Regions from separate parts of the Homo sapiens genome. Here all the other regions are linked to region 1. The links are contacts of gene promoters, found by promoter capture Hi-C in human tissues and cell types (Jung and others, 2019). All regions are on one chromosome and are shown on one strand. The core of a region is centred on a gene start or on the middle of the fragment in contact, and the rest is flanking DNA. Distances in the headings are between cores, read along the strand shown.

Region 1 (3,853 bases), core at 724-3,223:
AACAAGATTTCTATGTGCCCAATTATTGGTACCTACCCAACAGGATAATCAATTCCAACAACACACTTTAAAAAAATTAATTTGAGAGGAAAAAAGTATCTGAGGTTTGGCTCATTAAAATAAATGAGAAAAATTCCTCTCTAGTCTCCTGGTGAGGAATCTAATTGGAGGCAGAGCTGACATTTTAAGTCATGGCTCTTCAGGTACAAAATAACAAGGAATGCCCCAACTGACCCTGTATGGACAGATACTGAAATTGTCTCTCAAAGCAGCAGATTCTGGTCTGCCAGAAGAGGCCATGAAAAGAGAGAGAGAGAGAGAGAGAGAGAAACAGGAATGTTGCTGGACGTTTCTATCATCACTTACCTTCAGTTCACCCCTCTCTTTTCAATTACATCTCAGCATCATGGTTGGATGTTTCCACCTGGCTACATAAGCAAGCTTTACACAAGGTGTAATTTGCCTAAATAGTGGTCCATTCTATTGGGGTGGGAGCAATTGCTTCCAGGACTCACATCCATATGGCTCCCACTTAGCCATGTGGCCTGCTGACAAAGGGTGGCGGAACTGTCACTACTCTGTTGTCCACGCTTTCAGTCCTTTGGTTTCCTCTTCACTCCCTGGACGCTCATGTAAAAAGGGAGGCCATATACCTGTGCATTGTGTGTCTAAGCATTCAGTGTGTGTCTAAAGGCAGAAGGGTGTGGGTAGGAAAACAAAGACGAGGGAAGCTGCGTTCTCCAAACACTTCAGACTTGAGTAAGTGGGGTTTTGCAGCAATTGAGTGATTTGAGGGAAAGTGAACATACAAACCCAAGCAATCAAAGGGAATATTATCTTAATACCAGGGATACATGTTTTTCTTTCTGCCTCTTAAGTCCAAAGAGGCAAATCAGGACAAGTGGCTTTGGTTGTAAACTTTAAGGTCAAGGATCCTTTCTGTTGAGCTTAGCTCTCAAGTTCTCAGTAGTCAACTGCGGTGAAACATAATTAATAGCACGATAAATACAAGTTGTGGAAGATTCGATTGAAAGTTGGAGGCCCTCTCCGTGGATCTCTCTACAAAGAGCCTGTAATAAAGAGGACTTAATCAACGTTAGCAGGGCTATTTAAAAAGCATCGTCTATTAAAATTCATTTCTTCTCTAGAGCCTCTTGTTGGAGTTTCTCTGTGTGGGTGTGTTCGTAAGAGAGGAATGGGTTAGCAAGAGTACTGGGTACAATTTGTGTATCCAAGAGAAAACAGAAGCTCTCAATGAGGAAGAACATATGTTTCTGGGACTGCATCTGTGCAAAAAGTACATAGTCCTGACGTTGTACTAAGAAAAAAAACACTCTCTTTAGAAAGTCTTTTATTTCACACGTTATCTTCTTGGCACATTTCCCTCATATTGCCCTTTCCGCCTGACCAAATAGCCCTTTCTCACCCTCAGGTCCAGGAAAACCAGGAAACGTTTCCAACAGTGCGACAAAGCCTGACTAACCAGACATACTACTCGCTCGGGGATCCCGGAGGCAAGCCTCAGTCCAAGAACAGGAGTGACTCTCGAGGGCTCACCTGCCTGCAGGGCAGCCCCTCCCTGCATCGAGCGGAAATCCATCCTGTCCAGCGCGGGGCGTGGGCAGAGCGGGGCGCGGCCCCGGCAGGCGGTATCCGCTGGGACTCCGACAACGTGCGCGACCCCAGGCGAACCGCGCCCCTCTCCCCACCTCCCCGCGGGCGGGTACAAGTCTCCAGGTGTCCGCGCGCTCAGCGGGTCCGGCCCGCCCCCGCCCCCGCCCCCGGGCCCGACTGCGCGTGCCCGGCCGGAGCCGCGCCCCCTCCTCAGGGAAGGCCGGGCGTCCGGCCCACGAGGCCGAGCTCCCCCCCGGCCCGGGCCTCTCACCGGCGCGGGGGGCGGGCCAGGGGCGGGGCCGGACTCGAGCGGGGCGGGGCTCGCGCCAGCGCCCCCAGCTCCGTGGCGGCTTCGCCCGCGAGTCCAGAGGCAGGCGAGCAGCTCGGTCGCCCCCACCGGCCCCATGGCAGCCCCCGGCGCCCCAGCTGAGTACGGCTACATCCGGACCGTCCTGGGCCAGCAGATCCTGGGACAACTGGACAGCTCCAGCCTGGCGCTGCCCTCCGAGGCCAAGCTGAAGCTGGCGGGGAGCAGCGGCCGCGGCGGCCAGACAGTCAAGAGCCTGCGGATCCAGGAGCAGGTGCAGCAGACCCTCGCCCGGAAGGGCCGCAGCTCCGTGGGCAACGGTGAGTGGAGCCCGCCGCTCCCCGGCGCCGCCCCCTGCCCCACACCCGGTCACCTCCTCCTATCCCGCCCTCACCCCGCGTGCTGGGAGTGCGGGACCCCGTGTTCTGCCCACCTGTTGCTCGCCGTCTTCGGTATGACCGACTTGCTTGTGGAAAGCACTCTTTTCCATAACCTATTACTCAGCTTTGTCATATAGGTACCTATGTATATTAAATATTGTACATATCTATCAATGTTAACTAACTCACTTCAAGATTTCACCCCTTTCTTTTTCTACTCCGCCGGTCCGCGCCCCTCACTGGTGCGGACTTAATTTGAAGGTTCAGGGAGTCTATAAACACCTTGAGATGCTATGCAGAATTTTTGGTGTGTACGATCTTTTTCTGGGAGAAGGAGCCCTTCAATTTTATTAGATTTGTTAAATAATTAATGACCCCCATAAATATCTTGGGGAAAAAAACCGACAGCACTGGCGCTCCTACAACCTATAAATTGGGATTGTGCTGTCTTATGCAAGTACTTCGGGGCGCTCCACCCTGTGTGGGAGGCGAGTGGTGGATCTAGGGAGTGAAGAAAAGTAGTTAGGAGGCTTTGGTCCAGGGAACAAACACGCCGAGGAGGAGGTAGGGGACTTTGGCCCTGCCGGCAACAGCCGTGCCCGCCTAGCTGCGCTTCCTACCCCCACCAGTGCGGGCGTGATGCAAGTCTGATCCCTCCAAAAAATTAAACCCGAAGGTGAAAGGGGTGTAAGCACACACATGCACACTATGTTCATGATTGATAGACGGGGGAGGTGGAAGGGAAAGAAGATGGCAAGCCACTTGTGAAAATTAGAGATCATGATGTATCCTTTTCTCCCCTGCTGAAGTCAGGTGATGGGATCAACTCAGTGACCCTTGTTTTACTTCTTGTTGCTGTGTATGTGAGTTTGCATTATAAAAGCACTATGTTGGCTTATAGCAAAAAGAAGAGGAAAGAAATTGAGCAATTAAGTTGGAATATCTGTTTCCTGCAACGTTCAGTTGTTTCTGTATGAAGTAACTTGGGCATTGGCGAATGTAGGCTAACCCATTCTAGTTTCTATTAGGAAAACAGAAAAATTCTAACAGGCCAGACCAGAGATTTCAAACAGCAGAGTCTGGGAGGCTGTACTGTGTGTGTAAAAGAATCCTAAAGGATGACGTAGTCAATATTAACATACTTGAAAGGTAAAGAGAAGATGTTCAATGATCGTAGTTAATATAACTGAGTGCATACTATGTGCCAAGAATTGGGCGATGTGGTTTGCATTCATTTGAGATATATATATATATATGTATTTAAAAACTTGTGAGTTAGGTATTTTCATCCTCATTTTACAGATGAGGAAACTAAGCAGTTAAGTAACACTGAAGCTCTAATAGATGGTAAGTGGCAGAGCTGGTATTTAAACTCCCAAACCTGAATTTTAAACTTATCAGTTTTATCATTAAGTTTTAAAATGATTAATACAAAGTGGGATTTGTTAGATGCTAAGCCTCTCCGTGGCCCCCTCCCATTTTTCTTTAAATAAAATTGAGGAAGTTCTGAAAGGCTGGGGAGGTCTAGAAAACACAGAACTGCTGCAATACA
Region 2 (3,853 bases), core at 941-3,440, 96 kb before region 1:
CCAAGTGGGTCGTCTGTGGAATGAGTATGGTCATCTGTGGAACTGGTGGATCTGTGATCCCTTCAGATGTTCACTGCATGAGTTGAAATGCTTGAGAGTTTTTGATCTTTGATCTAAAGAAAGAAGGCTAAGTAGAGGAGAAAGGACAGTCCTAGGATGCCTGAAAGAAGAAGGGATAGGGAAGAGGAAGAAACTAAAGAGGCATGGCCTCTGTCTCCTCCCATGACCTGAGTCCCTATGAAAAGAAGAGTTAGGAACAGAAGCTGGACAAGCAATAATTGGTGGGGCAGGGGAGATGGGGGAGCTGTGAAATAGTCGTAGAAGCCGTGTACATCAGCTGTGTACTTCAAGGGGCTGCACAGAGATGGAATGCAGTCATCCTCTAAACTGAACCTCTCTTGCCCCTTACAGCACCCCATGCTGCCACTGCCCTCAATTCAGATCTGGGGCAAAGGGGTCCAAGGGCAGCTCCCAGCCCAGTGAAGATCTAGTTGACAGTAAAGCTCAAAGAAAGCATTTCCAGCAGGGAGAGTGCTGACCACAGCAAGGCAGGAGTCAGCGTGGAAGAAAGGAAGCAGCCTGGCTTCTGACCCTCCCGAGACACGCATGGGGGAGGACTAGAAGGGCTGTTCTCACACGGGGAGGGGCAAAAGGTCATTGCAATTTGGGTGTTAGTGTCAACAGGACTTCATCTCTGCCCTCAGACAGGTAAAACTTGGGGAAATTCTGGTTGCAGGGAGAGGAGTTTGCTCAAAGGCTCACTGAAAGGATTAAATAGGAGAACATAAGAAGGTGCATGGCACAGTGGTCTGACACATAGAAGGTACTGCATAAACGTAGTCTTAGAAGATTTCCCAGGTACTTGGGTGCAAAAGTGTAGAAAGAATATCGATACCCCTCCCCCAAACATCTTTCTCTGTCCCCCACCCCTTACTTAAGCATCCTTATCCAAACTACAATGGCTCCAGGGTCTAGACGGTTGTCCAAGAGGGTCCAATAGCTTATCGTACCCTGCAAAAAATAATCACAGGACTTCCACTGACCATTCCATATCAGGGGACAGAAACACACACTGGAATATGCCATCTGCTTTTGTCCTCAACCTCATGGCACCTTTTAACTGTCTTTTAAATTAATAACATCTTCTGAAACATGAGAAAAAGAGAATTTTTTTTATTTGAAATAGTGCCAATACTAAATGAGTAAGTCTGAAGTGAGTTAGTCATAAACATGTCACCTGGCTCAGAGAATTTTATATCCAAATCACCATCCCACAGCGGTGTCTTTGCAGTTTCTCTTGGCTCACTGTGCTATTTTTGAAGCCTTATAATGTTGCCCTCAGAAAGAGCCTGCAAGAAAAGAAGTCGAAAGAAAAGACTAATCTAATAAAAATCAAAATGAGGCTGCATGCCAAACACGACAAAATAAAACATTTATCTCTCCCAGGGGTCTGCCATAGCCGGTTCTTATGGCTCATATACTGCTGACAAGTTTTATGTTGTCTTGATTACATCCAAAGCAAAATTGCCCCAAATTATTTAATCATATGCATGCCAGGAATGCACTATATCTGACAAATATAAAGTGAAATCTACTGCCTTTGTTTTCCCCAGGTTTCAATATGCAATTGTGTAGACTTTCTAAGTAACATGAATGTGTAAAATAGGTGTAAATTAAAATATTAAAAATTCAGGTCGATTCATTTGGGTGAATAATTCAAATGTGACACTTCATAGCTGTGTACTCCTAGAAAATTCTCATTAGACCTTAGTAAAAGTGCTCTAATGTACATAGTATTATATATGTGGTCATAAAAGATCTTCAGGTTGGGAGACTTATTTTCTTGTGAGACTTCCCCACTGTACCCTAACCCATTTATAGTGCAATGTAGAATTCTTTATAGCTATATGAGAACTTAAATAGCAGCAAGTCCAATTGCTCATTTCAAAGATGAGAAATAAACGAAATGCAGCAAAGTAGTCTTTTTGGGTTAAATCTTTCCGAAAATGTACTTTAAAAATCTCAACCCAAGAAAATGTTTATAAGGGCTTTAGTCACTTGAGTCTAGCCTCAGAGGCCTGTAAGAAAATGCATTTTTGTCACCAAGCAACAGGAAATATGATGCAAAAGACTGCATGTTTGTCTCCCCCAAGGGACTGAATTCATCAAACAAAAGTACCATGTTCCATTATCTTTATATCTTTAACGATATACATAATAGACATTAAATAAGGAGACATATACCAAATATTCCTCCTGCTCACCCTATTTCAAGAACAATTCGTCAGATCTTCCACATAATTCTCCCCAGTTATGGATTGTGTCAGCACCAGATACCAAATATTACATGTAAATTAAATACTGTAGAACTATTTTTAGTAGCACAGACCACTATTCGTAGTTGGTGGTCTTGACTAGCTGCTGAATTAATTTCTGCCTGTGCATAAAGAGAATATACAGAAGACAGCACAGAGTTGAAAAATATCCATTTACTTATAAGTGCCCAACTGTGGGTACTGCACATAAAACCATTCTCTTTAAAAAGAATATTCTCTAAATGCATAAAGATCTTGGAATTTGGTTGGGTTTACCTTATCCCTCATAATAAAAAATCACTATCTCAGTTCTTATGCACTAATTATGGTAAAGCATCCTAAATTGTGCAGTAGGCATTGTCTTTTTTGCCTATGAATTACATTTTATCTTGCTATCATTGGTTTGCTGGGTGAACTATTAAGAGCTTATTGCTATTCAGACATAAATGATAGCTTTGACCACCCTTTTTACCCACCCTAAAATGTATTTTTATGCTAAAGCTATCCAAATGAGTGATTTTAAATATAATTATTATATATATAATATATGATTATATGGAAGTTAATATGGTTATGTCAATAAGTAGTTTGTAACTGCCAAGGAAATATTATTTTTTAAAGTTTTTCTCACTGTTTTTAATAGAGGGGTAATAGTTCCTGTAAGAATCTCTAAGCAGTTTTACAGAGAATAATTTCACTAACCATTGCAGTATACTTCTCTGAAAATGAGATTCTTAAAGGAGTGAGATGCTGGCAGACTGCACTGAGGGTGGTGATGAGCTCTGGGAGATAAAGACCTGACCCTCCCCATACTGCTCAGACTGGGAAACTTTTATAGTTGTCTCTACAACTGTTCCAATATATGAAGGCACACTTCACCTAACATGTGCAGACTTAGAGCATGTATGTTCAATATATGAATGCACATTTCACCTAGCATGTGCAGACTTACTACCAGCAAGAGTAACCACTAAGGGGGCTTTGAAGCATCAATCTTAATATAGTTCAAGTTCTGCCAAGGGAAAAATCTAAACATTTGAAGGACCACAGCAGATGCTGTTGCCACACTCCCTCCCGTATCCCCTCAGCCTCAACTCTGAGTTCCTGTAGCTGTCATGGACAATGAGCACGTTGATAACTTCCCACCTCAAATACTCTTCCCTATCTCTCCACCTGCGGGCTCTGTCTCCCCTAGGAGAGATTGCTTAGGCTACTTGCGTGCACAGTTGGCAGTGTAAAATTCTTAACTTTATTCCACTTTGGATGTGCTTTGCAGTTCCTATTCCTGCTAATATGGTGCAAAGCTACTATAAGCAAGGTTCTCTCAATCCATACTTGTCAGCAATCTGGAAGTGCTAGGAATTCCACACAAAGAGCAACCCTCAACCAATGAGGAGAGGGAGTAGGTAGATAAATACCACAATTTCCTTGCCCCTCAGCAGAACAAGTCTAAGTTCCTGAGTGTGTCCCCAGCTAGACAGAACCCTATTTCCTACACAGGTAATCCACCTCTATGAATGCACCCTCAAGTGGCTTTT
Region 3 (3,853 bases), core at 711-3,210, 70 kb after region 1:
TGAAAAGTCACAGATTTGCTTTCTGATAAAACACCTGAATCCCCCTAAATATGTGAAGCTCCGTGACCATTTCAGAGACACACAGAGGTCCAGATTCTATTTCTTCCCCCATTACAAGTCACATTGCTAGAGAGATTCTTCCCGATATCAAGCACTGGCCACAAGTCAAACTGGCGTCTTCCCATTTGGGACCAGTGGAGGTGAAGAACTCCAAATAATTCCTGCCTTTATGTGAAGAGTAATTTGTCTCCTTCCTCACTCTACTTCTCCTAAGGCCCTGGCCCCTTGCCTTCAACCCCTAAGGACCTGTTTTTAAATTTCAGTATATAACAGTATGCAGTTTTAGTTTTCTTAAAGGTCTGCAGATATTTACTCAGACTTAGGCTTGATTATACCAGAGGAAATAAACCCATCGTTTAATCAAATGCAAACGACAGGCACTAAATTACACGTTTTTAATATATTCTATTGGTAACTTTAATAAGCACTATTTATTAAGTAACTACCATGTTTGTATGCTCATTCTCTTTTAATTTTCGATAAGGTAATTGTTTCAGTATATTTCACTTACAGTTTTGAGATATTTTTCTATTGAGCCACCATTGGGTAATGTATGGGAAACCAATCAATAAATAGTTCTTATGATTCAAGAGATACGTTGTAAAAAAGATCAATTCTGCCTAAAGGTAGCCATGTTAATTTTCTGATTCCCACAAGCTTAAGTACTAGCTGTTAAAAAAAAATATTTTAAGATGGATGTATCATTTTCTATAGTTATTGGTTATTTTCGGAATGGTGCAATAACAAATTACTTTCTGTCTAATGACTTCTATTCATGGATGCAGTGGTATAAAATAATCTACCCTTATCATTCATATTTCTGTGTAGTTGAGTAAGGTGGGAACTATTTTTGATATGCAGGAGCAAATACTAAAGCAATGGGGTTCCATGCACTTTCTGTCAGCAAAAGTATCAACTGCCAGAAACCCCTGATAAGTCCCATTTCAAGCAAGTAGAGTCTGGATAATACCAAACAGCAAGACAACAGTTAGTACTTGTGAACTGGCAGTACTGCCAACTTGACTTACCATTCTAACCCGAAATAAACACCCCGGAGTTAAACAAAGCTAAGTCATCCATCTGCAAGGTATGTAGTGGGCTTAGCCAGGAAGAAAGACTTTTTGATTTGTCAAAGCAATTTTAAACTACTGCCATTTATCCTGGCCAGAGGTTGAAAAGGCCAAAGGGAAGCTTTTAAACATATGATAACATCATGTAGTTGGGGACATATGGTATTTGCAGACTGAATGAATGCTAGCTGGGATTTGCTCTGTTCTGGGCCACCCTGGGTGTAGAATAAAGAACAGCCCTCTTTTCCTGACTTTACCACTAATTTGCTGTCACCAGGAAAAGTAACGGAAACTTTTGGCTTCTAGTTTTTCATGTATAAAATAAGGAGACTGGAAAAGATGCTTTTTCAGTTTCTGTCAAGCTTCTGAATCCCCATGATTCTTAAAGGGCTCACAAAGTAGATAGAGGATCTTGGTTGAAATGATCATTCTTTGAAAAAAGCTAAGTAAAAAATTGTTTTATTTCCAGCTTATGAACCCATTCATTTTTTTTTAAATGAACAAACTGTCCGAGTTTTTCAGGTACAGTAAAAATTAATAAGGAAGTAGAAGGGTCAAATGAGAATCAGTCACAGAAGAGATTTTGTTAAAAAATTCATTGTATCAATTCAGCAACCATTAAATTGTTAGTATATTCTTAGTTTTAGGTATGTTATCTCCTCAACTGTCACGTTGAATCATGAAATTGCCATTTTTGAGGGTTAAAACAGTCGGGTTTTGTCAGTTTCCAGAGTTCAACCTATAGATATGATCTCTGTGAAAGCAAGGTATAATATTGTGCATCTTCCTCTCATTCCCTTTAGTTCTTTTTTTTTTTTTTTTTTTTGAGACGGTGTCTAGCTTTGTCACCCGGGCTGGAGTGCAGTGGCACGATCTCGGCTCACTGCAAGCTCCACCTTCCGAGTTCACACCATTCTCCTGCCTCAGCTTCCCGAGTAGCTGGGAATACAGGCGCCCACCACCATGCCTGGCTAATTTTGTTTGGTACTTTTAGTAGAGACGGGTTTTCACCATGTTAGCCAGATGGTCTTGATCTCCTGACCTCATGATCCGCCTGCCTCGGCCTCCCAAAGTGCTGGAATTACAGGTGTAAGCCACCACACCCAGCCACCTTTAGTTCTTGATGTAATGCTTAGGCACCTTTGTTTCTTTGACAAATATGCACTGAAAGCAGTATTTTGAGGCAGAAGGCCTTTTGGAAATCACTTATATTATATTACTTTATTTTGTTAATTTTTTAGACAGGGTCTTACTCTGTCACCCAGGCTGGAGTGTAGTAATGCTCACTGCAGCCTCAACCTCCAGGCTCAAGCAATCTTCTTCCTCAGTCTCCCAGGTAGCTGGGACTACAGGCACATGCCACCATGCGTAGCTAATTTTTTGTATTTTTTCATAGAGACAGGGTTTAGCCATGTTGCCCAGGCTGGTCTTAAACTCCTGGGCTCAAGCAGTCCTCCTGCCTTAGCCTCCCAGAATGCTGGGATTACAGGCATGAGCCACAGCTTCTGGCCTATATTATTTTAAAGATGAAGAAAGTAAGGCTCAAAAATGTCTCAAAGTTGCAGTTCTTTTTGATGTTCAGAATGACACTAACACATTATAAAGAAAAAGTCCTGAACATATTCTGGATATTCTACCTACCAGTAAAAGAAACTGATCTGGGCCAGGCGTGGTAGCTCACGCCTGTAATCCCAGCACTTTGGGAGGCCAAGGCGGGCGGTTCACAAGGTCAAGAGATAGAGACCATCCTGGCCAACCAACATGGTGAAACCCCGTCTCTACTAAAAATACAAAAATTAGCTGGGCATAGTGACGCACGCCTGTAGTCCCAGCTACTCGGGAGGCTGAGGCAGGAGAATCGCTTGAACCCGGGAGGTGGAGGTTACAGTGAGCCGAGATCGCGCCACTGCACTCCAGCCCTGGTGACAGAGTGAGACTCCGTCTCAAAAAAAAAAAAAAAAAAAAAAAAGAAACTGATCTGATACATTTTATAGGGACAGTTCTTAGCAATTAAAGTTGGGAATAGAGGTGATTCTCAAGTTCTTAAAACCTGAAGGCCCTATTTTTTGTCATTCTTGTTGACTGAGGTATTGACATTTTTGGAAAAAAAAATATTTTTTTAAGTAGTTAATGCTAGTAAGAAAAACTTAATCTAAAGGAAGGTAGTAACAATAATACCAGACTATACACATGATCTGAATCTGCACTGTAATCCCCAAATGCATTACTTTCCTGTATTTGATAAGTTTCATTTCTCTATCAGTAAACAACTTCCAATTATAGGTTTAGTTACTGTTTATAGAAAGGTGTCATGACTTAGCAATATTAGAAATAGACTAAGTGTAAAGATATTTATAGGTCATACTTTTGACTGAAGCCTTACACACTGCAAACTCTCATGTTTTCTGTAACATCTCTCTGCCATTTTAATGATAAAATAATCGCATTTTAGAGCATCTGATTTAATATTTGTCAATAACAGTTTATACTGAAATTTAGAAAACCACAAAGAATGTAGTCCAACACACTGTCTTTACAAGTGAGGAAACTGAGGCCCAGAGCAACTTTAAGTTACTTAAAGTTAAAACATGGGGCAAATTGGGACTTGGCATCCAGTATATTATAATGTCTAATGTGCCATTTGCTCTTGTTCTAGTTGCAAAAACATTTGCCTCATATCCACACTCAAAATGGAGTGAAGATTAAGTAAATAATGTTTTGAT

Evidence for each region. The method cuts DNA at HindIII sites, captures the fragments that hold promoters and counts their contacts. A contact is called where the count stands out against the background at its distance.
Region 2: a contact is called between a fragment that was not itself captured here and the fragment with the promoter of PKP2 in region 1, in 2 of the 25 tissues and cell types used here (hippocampus and neural progenitor cells).
Region 3: a fragment that was not itself captured here is called in contact with the fragment with the promoter of PKP2 in region 1 in 5 of the 25 tissues and cell types used here (bladder, dorsolateral prefrontal cortex, heart left ventricle and 2 more).

What each region holds. Positions count from the first base shown.
Region 1 is chr12:32,894,897-32,898,749 of GRCh38, reverse strand. It overlaps PKP2 (plakophilin 2), which reads left to right and starts at 1,973. Exons shown (of 13, transcript NM_001005242.3): 1 at 1,973-2,241. The coding sequence starts at 2,019. RefSeq lists silencers at 1,565-1,664, 1,865-1,974. The HindIII fragment of the contact is 8,511 bases long and covers 1-3,853 here.
Region 2 is chr12:32,991,060-32,994,912 of GRCh38, reverse strand. No RefSeq gene overlaps it. Among named protein-coding and RNA genes, the nearest start is that of PKP2, 96 kb to the right of the region's middle. The HindIII fragment of the contact is 9,353 bases long and covers 1-3,853 here.
Region 3 is chr12:32,824,409-32,828,261 of GRCh38, reverse strand. All of the region lies in intron 6 of PKP2 (plakophilin 2), which reads left to right. Among named protein-coding and RNA genes, the nearest start is that of YARS2, 70 kb to the right of the region's middle. The HindIII fragment of the contact is 3,690 bases long and covers 116-3,805 here.